Regions from separate parts of the Homo sapiens genome. Here regions 2 and 3 are each linked to region 1. The links are contacts of gene promoters, found by promoter capture Hi-C in blood cells and fetal thymus (Javierre and others, 2016). All regions are on one chromosome and are shown on one strand. Each heading gives the region's core, a stretch centred on a gene start or on the middle of the fragment in contact. The rest is flanking DNA. Distances are from core to core; before and after follow the strand shown.

Region 1 (5,161 bases), core at 677-3,176:
GGCATATTTCTCAGAATGTGTCCCCATTGTTCAGTAACATGTGACTCTACAACAATTCACTCTCCAAAATAAAAGACTTGAACAAATAGATAAACATATCCTGTTGCTGGTTAGGTACACTTCATGTTAAAGAGAACGTAACAATACATAAAAATAAATAGGAAAAAATATCAAGTAATGTGTGCAGGGATTCTTGATCTTGCCTGCATATTAGAGTCTCTTAACTTATAAACTAACACCAAAAATTCCAAGGTAGGGTACCACTGCAGATCGATTAAAAAAGAATCTCTGGAAAATAGTCCAGGTGATTCTGATGTCAGCAAGGGTTGAGTGCTACTGTGATATAAAGGGAAAAGGTGTAGTGGAAATACTAGCTGTAATGGAATTAAAAATATATCTTAAAGTATAAAATGTATTACAAAATATTCCACTGAGCCAGGCCAGGCATGGTGGCTCACACCTGTAATCCCAGCACTTTAGGAGGCCAAGGTGGGCAGATCACTTGAGGTCAGGAGTTAGAGACCAGCCTGGATAACATGGTAAAACCCCATCCTACTAAAAGTACAAAAATTAGATGGGTGTGGTGGTGCATGCTTGTAATCCCAGCTACTCAGGAGGCTGAGGCAGGAACCTCCCCTGAACCCGGGAGGCAGAGGTTGCAGTGAACTGAGATTGTGCCACTGCACTCCAACCTGGGTGACAGAGCAAGGCTTCTCCCCCAAAAGGAAAAAAAAAAATGTGAGCCAAATTTGTTTAAGCCAGATGGAACAAAAGCAATGTAAAAATATTTTTTTATTTACTAAATGCTGTTGAAATACTGCATTTTATTTTGGAATATAATCAAAAATTTGGATACAAATTTCATATATACCATAACAAATTACAAATTGGTTAAAAAGTGAAAAATTGGAATAATTTAAAAACAACTTTATTGCAGAAGATGACTATTTTTTTTAAAGCTTATTTTAAAGGGTTAGGAAGTGGTGTTTGAATTAGACTTATTCTCCAGAATTATTGGGATTCTCAGAGTAATGAGAATAAGAGACCTGCAACTGGATAAACTGCTGATGGAAAGAGTGTTTGGAAGTTTCTTCGTCATTAACAGCTGTTAAAGGAACAAGTTTCCCCTCAAAAAAGACCGATCTTCCCTCAGCAGTACTCTTGCAACCAAAGGAAAAATTACATCTCTGAAATATTTTCCCCACCAAATTTGAAATGGAATCTGGAAGCAAGAATTTGTACTCTATTGCAAATATTATTTTGCCTGACCCCAAAGGGAGAGACAGAGAATGTACTCTTGCCTTGCAAGGGTGAGAGACTCAATCTGTACTCTGGCAGGCACTCCTAGAATTTTCTGCCACAGACTGTGTTTTTGGCACAGTGTGTGGCCACTGGTATTGGGCCAAGTGAAGATTCAGAGGGTATGACCGTGCCCAGGGCTGTGGGCAGGGCTTATTCTGTTCTCTCTGGGAAACAGATTTCCTCCCCTACCTGAGGGAGAGAATCAATCATCATCTGTCTAGTTTCTCATTTGGAGAGTTCCAGAGACCCATCCTGGGCCCTGGAGGCTCAGAGGCTTACCTTGTTGGACTTGAAGTTCAGACGCAGTGATGAGTTTCACCCAAGGAGCTACCCAAACCCATCCCTGCTGCTCTGAACAATATGAGAAGTATTTCATGAGGAAAATAATGTGCTAATGTCAGTGGATTATTTAAACAGGGAGATACTGCTTGGACACTGGCTCACTGGGAATGTTTTAGATAGGCTCTTTTGGTTCAAGAGAATTTATTTTATGTAACAGGGATTCTTTATAAAGATGCATTTGCTTAGAAATCTAGAAAATGCCAAATAGCCAGGCTTCATAGAGGAAAGGGGCCCACACAGAACTGGGTCTCATAGCCAGAATCAGAATCCAGGCAGCTCTAAGAACCTGAGGAACTGTGGTAATGGGTTTTTGTTCTAGGGCTCCATCATTAATGGGTCTCAGCTGTTCCCCAAGCAGCTGTCTGTACTTCTCTTTGTGTCTACTTTTCTGCCAGCTTCCACTGGTGTTCTTCCTTCTACTCTATATAACTCTTCTCTGCCTCACAGTGTACATCCTTGTTACAGCTTCTGCTTTCTCAGAACATTGAGCTTCCATGGCCCCTGTTGTGCCTTATCACCCTGCTCCTTCAGGCCTTACTTCGCACCACTCACTACATAATTCTCTCAGTATTTCTCAGTTCAAAGCTGTGAAAAATTTGATTGCCCAGATCCTCTTTTTGCCCCAAGTCATGTCATAGGACACTGGCCAACTTAAGGTTTGGCAGTTCTTGGGTGAGCTGCCCAACCTTAGTCTAATCAACCTAATGCAGAATGGGTCAGCTGGGGGCACTCTTTCAGTAGGAGCTGTGGGTCAGTCTTCCTTAGAAAGGGCTCTGATGTAGCAGGCATCTGATCCACATGACAAATGGATGAATGGATGGATAAGTAGATAAAAAGCAGAAAGGTATATTAGATAGAGAGAGAGAGAGAGATAGACAGATAGATAAATAGATAGACAGACAGAGATACTTAGATAGACTGACCAGCATATTTGTCCTTAGAGAAGTAGGGAGAGATTGTGGGCTGAACAACTGAGCAAGGCGGGAACGGCATTCACGTGTTGAAATATTTTATTTTATTTTTATTATTATTATTTTTGAGATGGAGTCTCACTCTTTTGCCTGGGCTAGAGTTCAGTGGTGTGATCACACCTCACTGCAACCTCCGCCTCCTGGGCTCAAGCAATCCTCCCACCTCAGCCTCCAGAGTAGCTGGGACCACAGGCACACACCACCACACCTGGCTAATTTTTTTGTATTGTTGGTAGAGATGGGGTTTCACCATGTTGCCCAGGCTGGCCTTAAACTCCCAAGCTTAAGCAACCTGCCTGCCTTGGCCTCCCAAAGTGTTGAGATTATAGGTGTGAGCCACCGCACCCAGCCAACACGTTGCAATATGTTAAAGAGATCTGATCCCCACCCTTAGGAACCAAGTAATGGACAGGTCCTGGTTGGGCCAGCGATTAATGCTAAGTTTCCTTTTAGAGAAATAAGATAGATTTCTCCCAAATTCTTCCACACAATTCTGCCTATTTCTTCATGTAGGGCTTAGTATTCTCCAGAATTTTCCTATTAGAATCTGCCGTAAATTACTTAGAATGGAGCCTAATTTGTGGTAACCACTCAGCAAATGAGCGGTTATTATTATAATCTTCATTAATTGAACAAATATTTGAGCAGCATATTACTTGTGGGCTACATTTGGCTGCATGTAATAGAATCCCAAATATAGAGGTTTAACCAAATAGGGTAACCACCCCTGTTACATCCCCAAATGAACAGATAATAACATCTCACCACCTTCATATAATAACAAGTTTGAAGGCAGGTAGCCCAGGGCTGGAATGACAACACACAATTCCTTCTCCTTCTTTCTGTTCAGCCATGTTCAGACATGGTTTTCGTCTTCATCTTTCGTCTTTGTCACCACATAGGCAAATAGCCCTAATCCTTGTCACTTCTAGCCACCCTAACCACATTCGAGGTAGGAAGAAGGAGGAAAAGAGGAGGAAGGGACAGTTCTCTTCACACTGTAAACGTTTCTCAAAAATGCCCTAGCCTATCTCATTGGTCAGGATTGTCTGGCTGATACTTGGAGCTGCAGGGGAAGCTGGGCACAATGCTACCCTAAACAAAACCAGGATTCTATTGGTAAGGAAGAGAAAAATGAATATAGGGTAGGAAACTAGCAGTGTCTCATCCAGCTCAGACACTGAGAAGCACAGTGCCAGCCCTCAAAAACAGGTGGAGGAAAGAGATAAGCGAGGAACTGTAACAGTGTGATAAAGATCGTGATGGAGGTGTTATCGTGGATGTGCATAAAAGGGACACGTAACTTGTATTTGAGAGGTCAGGAAAGCCTTGCTGAAGGAAATGATAGCTGAGACCTGAAGCATGGATAGGAGTTGGCCAGGGAAGAGAGAGAATGCACAGATGTTCAGAGGTGAGACTGGGTCTTTTCTTGCAGCACAAAGAAGTTTAGTGGGGAACAGAGTGCACCATAGCGAGCAGTGAGGTTGGAGGTGAGCAGGAGACAGAGCATGGACTTCCTAAGCCACTTTAAGGAATTTGTACCTGTCTTCAAGGCACTAAGAAGCCACTGGGGGTGCTTTTTTTTTTTTTTTTTGAGACAGAGTCTCAAATCTGTCAAAAATCTGTCGCCCAGGCTGGAGTGCAGTGGCGCAATCTCAGCTCACTGCAACCTCCACCTCCTGGGTTTAAGCAATTCTCCTGCCTCAGCCCTCTGAGTAGCTTGGATTACAGGCGCCCGCCACCACGCCCAGCTAATTTTTGTATTTTTAGTAGAGACTGGGTTTCACCATGTTGGCCAGGCTGGTCTTGAACTCCTGACCTCAAGTGATCCACCCACCTTGGCCTCCCAAAGTGCTGGGATTACAGGCGTAAGCCACTGCGCCCGGCCAGCCACTGGGGGCTTTTAAGCAGGAGAAATTTTGCTTGCTGGTTTTTAAAACTGGAGTGGGAAAATCATTCAATCACAGCAATTATCTTTAAGTGCCAGTAGATTACCTATCCCTTCTTAATGCACCAGGAGATACACAAATGCACCTCAGCCAAGTCCTCTTCCCTTGGACAGGGGTGCCCCCAGCTGGCCATTGCATTCAGAAGCTGGAAGCCATGTTTGTCTAAACCTCTTTAGAGGTTGGGAATTTCCTTCCCAACGTAATTCTGTGGGATAAAATCAGGCTTGTCCTGGAAATGCTACCCCAATCAGGAGTGGTCACTTTCTATCTTCTTTATTCTTCAATGTTTATGCTCAATAATAAAGATTCTTTTTTAAGGGTCAATCAAGTTCATCAAGGGTACTCTACAAGCCTAAATACACACAGAAATCATGAGTAACCTAAGTAATCTCTAATATGTTTGATTAGATCACCTAACTCTAGATAGAATGTTCATTTTTCTTGATTTAAAAAGGGCTCACACATTTGATTAATCTCCCATTTTACAAGATGACAAGTTTATCACTCCTGGACACTGGCACATTAGCAGGGACTACTATAGCAGCACTGGGTACATTATCACTACATTTCCCAAACTGGTATCTTCAGTGTACAACT
Region 2 (5,161 bases), core at 1,081-3,580, 760 kb before region 1:
CTTATATACATAGCCTGAAGGTAATTGCACAATATTTTAAGTAACTCTGTGGATGAAACAAAGTTTCGAGTGCGTTTTGACTATGACCCACCATATGAGGCCAAGTGTGGAACTTTCCTCTTGTGGTGTCACATCAGCACTCAAATAATTTTGGATTTTAAAGCATTTTGGAATTCAGATTTCAGATTGGGGATACTCAACCTGTAATACCTCTTCTGAATATAGACGCAAAAATCCTCAATAAGATCCTTTTGTAGTTCATGAATGTGATGATTGGGCATTCACGTGGATGTGTGAGTGCTACCCTCGAAGCTTGTTTCAACATTGGCACATTATGCATCTGACTTGAAAAAACAAATTCTCAATAAAATACTAACAAACTAAATTTAGCAACATATAAAAAGGATAGATACCATGACCAAGTAGGGTTTATTCAGGAATGGAAGATTGATTCAACATAAAAAAATTCATCAATGTAATACACGATATTAATAGAATAAAGGACAAAAACCACATGATCATCTTGCTGGGCACAGAAAAAGCATTTGATGAAGATCCACACTCTTTCTTGATTCACTCAACAAACTAGAACAAACTATCAAACTCCTCTCCTTCAACTTGATAAAGGCCATCTACAAAAATCCACAGGTAACATTGTACTTATTGGTGGAAGACTGAATGCTTCCCCCCTAAGATCAGGAACAAGTGAAGTGTGGCCACTCTCACCACTCTTGTTAAACATAGTGCTGGAAGTTCTAGGCAGGGAAAAACAGCAAGAAAAGGAAGTTAAAGGCATCCAAATCGCAAAGAAAGAAGTTAAAATATTTTTGTTAACAGATGGCATGGTCTTGAAAATCCTAAGGAATCCACAAGAAAACTATTAGAACTAATAAACCAGTTCAGCAAAGTTTCAAGATACAAGATCAGTGTAGAAATTTTTTACAATTTTCAACTGCTATTTGCTCATTCCAAATAAGTTTACCTCCAAGGACATATATGTATGAAGAATCCAGGGGAAAGGTTAATTCGATGGCTGTTAATCACAGCCAAATTTAGCACATCTGCTGTTAGTCAAAATACATTCAAATACATTCAAATAACAGCTGGCATTGTGGAGCACTTGGCATGTGGTACATATCATTCATGTGCCTTATGTGTACTGACACAGTTACCTGTGGTCGCACCAAGTATCATCGCCATTTCACAATGGGGAAAACTGAAATAGAAAATGGTTAAGTAAATTTGTCAAAATCACATACCTAATCCCAGCACTTTGGGAGGCTGAGGTGGGAGGATCATGAGGTCAGGATTTCGAGACCAGCGTGACAAACATGGTGAAACCCCGTCTCTGCTAAAAATACAAAAATTAGCCAGGTATGGTGGTACGTGCCTGTAATCCCAGATACTCAGGAGGCTGAGGCAGGAGAATCACTTGAAGCCAGGAGGTGGAGGTTGCAGTGAGCCGAGATCACGCCACTGCACTCTATCCTGGGCAACAGAGCGAGACTCTGTCTCAAAAAAAAAAAAAAGAAAAAGAAAACACCAAAGCCGGGATTCTATATTTTTTTCACTCACAAGATCCTGAATGAGTTTATCTGAAGATGATAAGATAAAGAACGCTAGACTGAGAGTTAAACAAGCTCTCTGGGGCTTTCCTCTGGCTCTTCCACTAACGAGATGTGTGACCTTGGATGAGCAATTTCCCTTTTCTGAATCTCTGTCTCCTCATCTGTAAAAAGAGGGAGCTGGACTAAATGACAGCTAAAGCCTCCTACAACCTCTAATTCTCTCACACTGGATTTACTCTACACCTGGTATCTGAATTACAAACTCTCCCTTTTCCAGGAAAGATGAAAGGACCAGGGGAGGACAGACACTTACTTGTCACGACAAGAGATAGGAGAAACTGAAGCAGGACACCATGTCATTTGCACAAGTTGCTGCTTCAGCCAGTGATGGGTTTAGGTGAGGAGCATGGTTATAATTAGAGCAGCAGCCAGTCCTGAAGGCTGTGCCAGCCTCCTTCAGCACAGCTGGGCCTGCCGACTGCACATGCAGGAATCTGAGAGGCTGTTCTGGCCTTGAAAATGATCCTTCTTAAAAGGATTTTCCTCCTTCCTCAAGGGAAAGAAAACCTATTGATATAAAACTTCACTTCCCATTCAGTTTCCCCTGCTAAATGCCACTCCAGTAGAGACTGAGTGTTGATAAATACAGGGGAAGGAAAAAGTCGTAAGCTGAGCCTGGTCACATTGCCCCTTGTGATATCGTTTTATTTTTAACTTCGCAACACTTGGACTATTTCTGTTGAAGTTTTCTCTCCTTTCCCTGCCTTCCCAACAGAACGCTGTCCTCTACTGCAGCTGATGCAACCCAGCCACCTCCCGGCAATCCGCTTACTTGCAATCAAGGGTTCAGGTGCAAGCAGATGCTGACTCAGCCTGTTCCATTAAGGTAAGTATTCAAACAGGAGCAGGTGCACCATGACGAGGACATTCAGTGGTGAATATGCAGATGAAGCTGAGCCGCATATCACTTTTGTGTCCTGTGGAAGAGGATTGTTAAGCAAATTAGTTATGTAAAGATGTGGGGGAAAGGCTGGCACTGAGAATGAGATCCAGCCGTGTGTAAATTTCTGTTTCCATTTCAAGAGCAGGTAGAGTACTTGCTTTCTGACAGCTTAGGTTCTTTCTTCTATAATCAACAAGAGTAGTTATGATATCTGTAAAGTTACAACATGGTGATGGGTGGGGGGATCTGGGGAAGTGGAGGAGGTGGTGAGGAAACAAGTGGAAGGCCTAGAATCCAGGATTTCTATTCCCTTTTCTTTCTTTTTTGAGACAGTCTTGCTCTGTCACCCAGGCTGGAGTGCAGTGGCACCATCTTGGCTCACTGCAGCCCCTACCTCCCAGGTTCTAGTGATTCTCCTGCCTCAGCCTTCCGAGTAGCTGAGACTACAGGCACATGCCACCACATCCGGCCAATTTTTGTATTTTTTTAGTAGAGACAGAGTTTCACCTTGATGGCTAGGCTGGTCTTGAACTCCTGGCCTCAAATGATCCGCCCACCTCAGCCTCCAAAAGCGCTGGGATTACAGGTCTGAGCCACTGTGCCTGGCCCAGAATTTCTATTATTTATTTATTTATTTAATTCATTGTTATTATTTTTTTGAGACAGAGTCTCACTCTGTTGCCCAGGCTGGAGTGCAGTGGTGCAGTCTCAGCTCACTGCAACCTCCACCTTCTAGGTTCAAGAGAGCCTCCTGCTTCAGCCTCCTGAGTAGCTGGGACTACAGGCCTGTGCCACCACGCCTGGCTAATTTTTGTATTTTTAGTAGAGATGGGGTTTCACCATGTTGGCCAGGCTGGTCTTGAACTCCTGGCCTCAAGTGATCCACCCGCTTCGGCCTCCCAAAGTGCTGAGAATACAAGCATGAGCCGCTGTGCCTGATCAGAATTTCTGTTTTCTAAAGTCTAAATGCTGTGATCTTTTCTCCAGTCAACATTTGCTATGTTTGCTTGCAAGTCATTCTCATGTAGCTTAAAATTTCGTCTGCTGTGTCATACTACTGGTTAATAAGCACAACTGTATTTTCTGTATATACTATTCAAACTCCGCAGAGTTTAACACCTTTTTTTCGCCAACAATATTCTCTAAGTGTGGCCCTCTTCTCCCCAGCTCTCTTGAGTCCAAAATGCATCCATGAAATATAAGTGAAATATTTCTCAAGTTGAAAAACTTATATAGGCTTATGCACCAAAACCAAAGATTGTTACAAGCTTGAACAATTTTGCATATTCAGAGGGATAAAAGTAAAATGACTAATGATACTTGAGGTATCAAAAGTTATAACTTTAGACAGATAGTTTCTCGCTTCTGGAATAACTGTATAGTGTTGCATGCACTAAAAATTGGCAAGGTAAGGGAGCAGTGTTTATTTTCTTGTTTTTCACTGGTTCAAAGTTCAGCTAAGGACATCCTGGGAAGTGGCCTATGCAGCAAAAGGGATTCTGTACACTCTGACCTTTGATGTGTACAGGCTAAAGCCACCGATGCCAAGTAAAAGGAGACCTAAACTAACTATTCAGATACCTTAACTCCTGGTTCCTTCCTGCCTGTCTCTGTAACCTCCATATGTACCCCAAGACTCTGCTATAGGTGTCTGGGTTATCATTATGCCTGTTTCCTGGGCACAAGCAAATTCACTGTGTATAATCACCTAACTTCATTTAATTTTTCCAGGGCCTCCACAGCACCAAGGTCTCCAAGGTGTATGCTGGGATGCTGTCCTGGTGAAACTAGGGTGTGTTGGCTTACAAGTAACCAAGCAGACAGATTGAGTCCCAGCTACCCCTAGATAATCCAGTTACTTTAGCACTATCTTGGCCAATGCAACTGTAATTTAATAGAATAGTACTGATACAAAAGCACCAGATATAAGAATTAACTAGCTAATTCAATAACTAATAAGTATAAAGTTAGAGAGATTTCTAGTATAGGTGGAAAACTTCAGATTGTGAAGTGGAATGGATCTGGGAGAGGGTGGTTCTGTTTTAGGATACAGTGAAGGTACTGGAATCGCAGCGTCGAAGCCAAGGATTATGGAACCCAATGTGGGAATTAGCCTCAGCAAAGTGATTGTGTTAAAATCTCAAGAAGGCAAAGAGATTACTTTAATAATTATCTTTATACATTTTCTTTCCCTACAATTAAATATTTCCATAGCAGGGAAACAGGTCAACAATGCATAATTAAAGTAACTAATTAATTGGCTGGTTAACAGGTTAAGAGTTAAAAAATCTTTGACCTTTAACTTTTAACCTTGTCACTTTCACTGAAGTTAAAGCTCAGAAATAAATCATTATTGCCAGCGCCAGCCACATGAGGAGGCAGAATAGTTTAGTTACTGACATCATGTGAGGGGTGCTGAGAGGGCCCCTTGCCTAAAAATATCTCCCTGACATCAACCCTGTTTGCCTACTAACTTTAAAATTATAGAAAAGAATGTTAAAACTATTGTTTGTTAATCCCATTCTCTTTTGCTTGAGTCAGTGATTTAAATACACCTGCTATACGTGTTAGCATGACTTTGTTGACCAGCAACACTTGGTCACCACCTCCTCCTCCTTCTTCCACGCTTTGTCCTACTCTGCCCTTGGTA
Region 3 (5,161 bases), core at 1,438-3,937, 520 kb before region 1:
GCTGCAGTGCAGTGGTGCAATCTCAGCTCACTGCATCCTCCACCTCCTGGGTTCAAGTGATTTCATGCCTCAGCCTCCCAAGTAGCTGGGATTACAGGCGTGTGCCAACGTGCCCAGCTAATTTTTGTATTTTTAGTAGAGATGGGGTTTCACCATGTTGGCCAGGCTGGTCTTGAACTCATGACCTCAAGTGGTCTGCCCACTTCGGCCTCCCAAAGTGCTGGGATTACAGGCATGAGCCACAGCGCCCAGCCATTTTTACAATTTTTACATATGAAATATAACAATCTTTTCCTCTATGGCATCTGTCTTTTGTGTCCTGTTTAGAAAGGTCCTCTCTAACCCAAGAGATAAAAAACATTCTCCAAATCTTCATGTTTTTTTGGTTTTGTTTTCCTTACATATCTTCTAAAGTAAGGTATTTTTGTGAATGGTGTCATATAAGAATCTAATTTTTAATGTTAAAGTTATTGATGGATTAAAAAATGCACACAGTAGTCATAAATTCATAAGGTAACTAGTTATGAATAGACATAACAGAAACAATCTGAAACGTCACATTTTCATGCACTATGTATACATACACATACACAGGGTATCTTTTTGGACTCTACTTAGTTTCTAGTAATTTAATCTGTTTGTCTATTCTTGAGCTAGTACAACATAGTTCATTTTAATATATGTTTGGAGAAAATTCACCTCAGAAGGTAAGCTTCATGAGGGCAACCTACCTATCCCTTAGAGATGATTAAATGAGTTAATACATGAAAGCAATTGGAACAATTCCTGGCACATAGTAAGAGCTCTCCAAATGGTTATTATTAAAGCCCAGTTCTACCATCATACTACATTTTAAGACCATCTTTGCTGGCTGCCTTCTTATATCTTTGGTTCACAACTGTATTCCCAGTGGCTAGACTAGTACCTGGCACGTACTAGGATTTGCTAAATACAGGTTGAAAGTATGAGTAAATGCACAAACCTCAGGCATTCTGAGCCTCAATTTCTTGACTTTCTGTTTTTCTCTTGTTACAATAGAGAAAGCTCAGATTTATAGTTGGAAGCCTCTCTAACGTAAAATAGGCTCAAAACAGTTTGTGCCCTCCTGGCTACCGTAATAAAACATCACTAAATCATTATTGTCATCAACAAATATGTGCAGAGCAGTATGGTAGATGCAGGGGATGCAAAGATTCTACACAAGACATACTCTCTGCTATTGTTCTGGTTGGGAAAGAAAAGTATGTTTATGTACATGTGTACACACACACAGATACAAAAAAATATACTTAAGAATATCAGATATATGTTAAATGCTAAATAGATGACACAGATAAGAATACAGGCCATAAAGTCAGAGGACTGGGCTTCTCTGAACCATTTTTCTTGCTGTAAACAAAATAGCAATTCCTACCTCCTAGAATGATTCTATTTAGAAGAGAAGGCAGCCACCAAGATGGTCTTAAAATGTAGTATAAGTGTAGAGCTGGGCCTTAAATAACCATTTGGAGACCTCTTATCATGCTCCAGGAATTGTTCTAATTGCTTTCATGTATTAACTCATTTAATCATTCCAACAACTCTAAGGAACAGATACTATTATTTTTTTCCCAATTTGAACAATGAGCATACTTAAACTCTGGAGAATGTAATTAGCTGGCACAAAGTCACACTGTTAAGTATAAAGCAGGGGTTCAAACTAGAGCCACCATCTGCCTTAAAGCATTTAACTACGATATGAAACAGCTTCGGCACACCTTCAAAGGGTAGGATTTACACAGACAGGTTGAAGGAGACATAACCACCTACCCCAAAATCAATTGACAAATGTGCCTAAGGCAGAAGGTGAGGGAGTGCAGTTGGATTGCGTAATTACCCTGAAAAACCACCTGTTATGGAAACCATCTGTAAACTTTCTCGAGTGTTTCTCCTATAATTCAACACTTCTCCCATCTTTACATTAAATTCATGAAATTTGACACAAAAAGACAATTATTTATCTATTTTAAGGCTACTACCCTGTTGCCAGGCCACCGGGTCCGGCCCAGCCTTGATTCTTCGGGAATCACTTCTCCCTCGCCGCGCCTGTTACTGCCTCCACGGATCACTGTGAGGAAAATAAATGAAAAGGAAATTCAGTGCGATCCTGTTGCGGCTGATCCTAAATGTCTGCAGTTGCTATCTCCGAATCCTCTTTCTCCTCCCCACTACACATCCCCTTCTCCAGTCCTAGGACCACAAGAAACTTCCTCTGGTACAAAAAGGTCAGAAAACGATTACTGAGGTAACAGCGTCGCTTCAAGTCTAAGGACCGAGATTCTGGGGCCTCTGGGCTCCTTTACTCCAGATTCTAGACCCGGCTTTCGCGCTACCAGGCCTTGGATAAGACACTAGGCCCTGTGCCTGGACACTGCACCTCCCCAGGCCTCAGTTTCCACACCAGATCTCTACAGAGTGGGCGTGAGGGCAGGCCGATTCTCCCGTTAAGAGCTCTTACAAGCCGGCTGACTTCGTCCAGGAGCCTGGGGTCCTGGCCTCCTGGTAGGCGCCCTGGGGCCCTCTCCCTCCCCAGCCACCACCTCAGATAAGTTACCTCATCCTCGCTTCGCGTTCTTCCACTAAAGAACCTGGGGCTCCCACGCCGCACTACAGCGCCGCGGCCTTCCGGGGCAGCGTGCGTCGCGACGCGGGAAGGGGCCTGGAGGCGGGACTAGGAGCCTCGGAGTCAAGGGGCGGAGCGCCCTTTGCTAATAAGCCAATCAGAACGTGAGACGCTCCGGTGGGGCGGTGCGCGTCGAGCGCGGGGTGGAGTCTGGGTGACTTGGCTGGCGGGATCAAGTGCAGCTGCTTCAGGCTGAGGTGGCAGATAGTGAGCGCTGGTGGCGGAGTTAAAGTCAAAGCAGGAGAGTAATTATGAATAGCGCAGCGGGATTCTCACACCTAGACCGTCGCGAGCGGGTTCTCAAGTTAGGGGAGAGTTTCGAGAAGCAGCCGCGCTGCGCCTTCCACACTGTGCGCTGTGAGTGAGGACCATCCGGGGATAGAGGGGGAGCCTCCCGGGATGGGGGTGAAGAGGCACAAACCCCTCTGGGTTTTGTTCCCACAGTACCCCTTACACTGTTGGAGACTACGGGGCGGGGAGGGGGGAGGCAGCGCGATCCTCTAACCTGCTCGGAGTCTTAGGGGGTCGGTGGAAGGAATCGGAGTAGAGCAAATGTGGGTAAACCCTGGACAGAGAGCGTTGAGACCAGCAGACAGGAAGGGAAAGTGTGAAAAAAGTCTGTAGAGGTGACTGTGGAGACAGACGTGACAGGTGGATGATGCAGGGGTGGACAGGAAAATAATAAGGTGACAAATGGGAAGGGACTAAGGACCGAATGCCGGGGAACTTGAATGCCTTGAGGCTGGTGGGGCAATATTCTCTCTTTTCATCACTTTTTCTCACCTCTGGCAGATGAGGGTTCTTATTTGGTGTGTTCTTTGCAAAGGGAGAAATTCTCAACCATCCCAATGATCTGTATATCTCTTTGGACCCCAGATTTCACTCAGTTATCAAATACTGATTATCAAAGTATTCGAGGGTGTGTTATTAATTTCTTTATTTGGAAGATGCTTACCTCCCTATGATTTCTACCCTTTGGTTTTCTTTATGTCCTCTGGAACTAGTTTTAATAAATTATTCTCTTTTATGTTGTTGGAGTAGAAAAAGGAGCTCTTTTGCTTTAGCAGTTGGATGATATAGATTCCAGGAAGGAAAATATAGCATATAAGTTTTTATGTGTAAGACATTCGTTTTTTGCATAACAACTGTCATAGAATTGTAGAGCGGGAAGGAAACTTCAAGATCACTGAATTATAACTTCTCATTTTTCTGTGGTAAAACTGTAAGTATTTTTTCACTTCCTTTCCCCAGCCTTGCCCTTCCTTAATATCTCATCATTCCGCCTTTCTCAGTCATTCTGTTCTCGGGTTGTTTAGAGACCTTTATGGTTTTTACTCTGAAATGTTCCATGGTTCAATCAAAACAACTAATTAAAGCATACATTCTCCCAAAAGTTTATTTAAGTTGTAGACAATTTAGTTATAGTTACTCAAAGTAAAGGTATGAAGAACCACTGGTTTTAACCCTGCAAGAATATATTTACTAAAAGGGTTTTTTTAAAGCAAAATTAACATCCAATTGGTAGAATAAATGGGTGAGATATTTGTGAACAGAAACTCTTCAACAGTGTCCCTTGTTTATTCTTCTTTATCATATACTTTCTCATCCAGAGCTCCCCACGATGAGATGGTGCTGTGCTGGCTCTGCAGTTTCTCTCTCTTCAGTCCCATTTTCCGGAAGTGTGATATGCGTCTTTATCTGGTTTTTCCATGCCTTTTTCTCAAATAGTATCTACTCTCTCCTTTTCTCTTCCTTCTCAGGTATGCAATAGTCTTAATATTAATTTTTCAAGTTACAAGGGCTTAAGATTATAAAAATTTGCTTAAGAATATATTTCTATATGATTTGGGTATATATTCTCTTATGTAGGGCACAAATCCCAATTTAAATGAATAAAAAATTGCCTTTGAAAATAATCTTGCAGGTCCTTCACAGCCTTTCATTTATAAAGGTTCTGAAAATGCCAGTATCTTGAAAGTCAGAGGATCAGATGATCCAGCTACCAGAATGAAAATAAACAAAAATAAGCAAAACAACAATAATGACAATAATAAATAAACAAACATACATGTTTGAATACACACTTAGTCCTGTGGAAGACAGAACTATTAGAAAAGTTTTCAGTCCTTATTTTCTTTTATTGTTGTTGTTGAAGCAGGTGTGGTAATGGCACAGAATCATTTTAGATTTATTTAAATAAAACTGTTTATTATTCTTGAGGACAGGTTCATTTCCAATGTAATCCTCACTCTTAAGAACTCAGAGTGAGGTTTGAAAATTGTAGAATAGTATGAAGCTGATGTTCATGCAGATAAGGGGGACCTAATTTATAACCAACCCTCAAGCCAATGTCATTGGAGAGAAAGTAATATTCTGCCTTTATTTACAGGAGCAATTCTGCCTGTCTGATATAAGACTTCAGGCAAACCCGGATGTGAATCCTGGTCTCCACCACCTATATATATAATGTGACTTTGGGAACATTCTCTAAGCTCTCAA

The links. Contacts are between HindIII fragments. The CHiCAGO score rates a contact against its expected background, and 5 or more counts as called.
Region 2: the fragment with the promoter of FBXO40 here is called in contact with a fragment that was not itself captured in region 1 in 1 of 17 cell types (total CD8 T cells); the score reaches 5.5 in total CD8 T cells.
Region 3: the fragment with the promoter of IQCB1 here is called in contact with a fragment that was not itself captured in region 1 in 1 of 17 cell types (M1 macrophages); the score reaches 5.1 in M1 macrophages.

Annotation. Positions count from the first base shown.
Region 1 is chr3:122,351,943-122,357,103 of GRCh38, forward strand. No RefSeq gene overlaps it. Among named protein-coding and RNA genes, the nearest start is that of MIX23, 29 kb to the right of the region's middle. The HindIII fragment of the contact is 1,938 bases long and covers 958-2,895 here.
Region 2 is chr3:121,591,049-121,596,209 of GRCh38, forward strand. FBXO40 (F-box protein 40) reads left to right here and starts at 2,331. Exons shown (of 4, transcript NM_016298.4): 1 at 2,331-2,454. It overlaps LOC124906360 (small nucleolar RNA U13), which reads left to right and starts at 246; the gene lies at 246-346. RefSeq lists enhancers at 1,688-2,887, 1,701-2,351, 2,352-3,003 and a silencer at 2,274-2,568. The HindIII fragment of the contact is 3,467 bases long and covers 311-3,777 here.
Region 3 is chr3:121,832,373-121,837,533 of GRCh38, forward strand. It overlaps IQCB1 (IQ motif containing B1), which reads right to left and starts at 2,688. Exons shown (of 15, transcript NM_001023570.4): 1 at 2,594-2,688; 2 at 2,019-2,107. It overlaps EAF2 (ELL associated factor 2), which reads left to right and starts at 2,837. Exons shown (of 6, transcript NM_018456.6): 1 at 2,837-3,019. The coding sequence starts at 2,914. The HindIII fragment of the contact is 9,498 bases long and covers 711-5,161 here.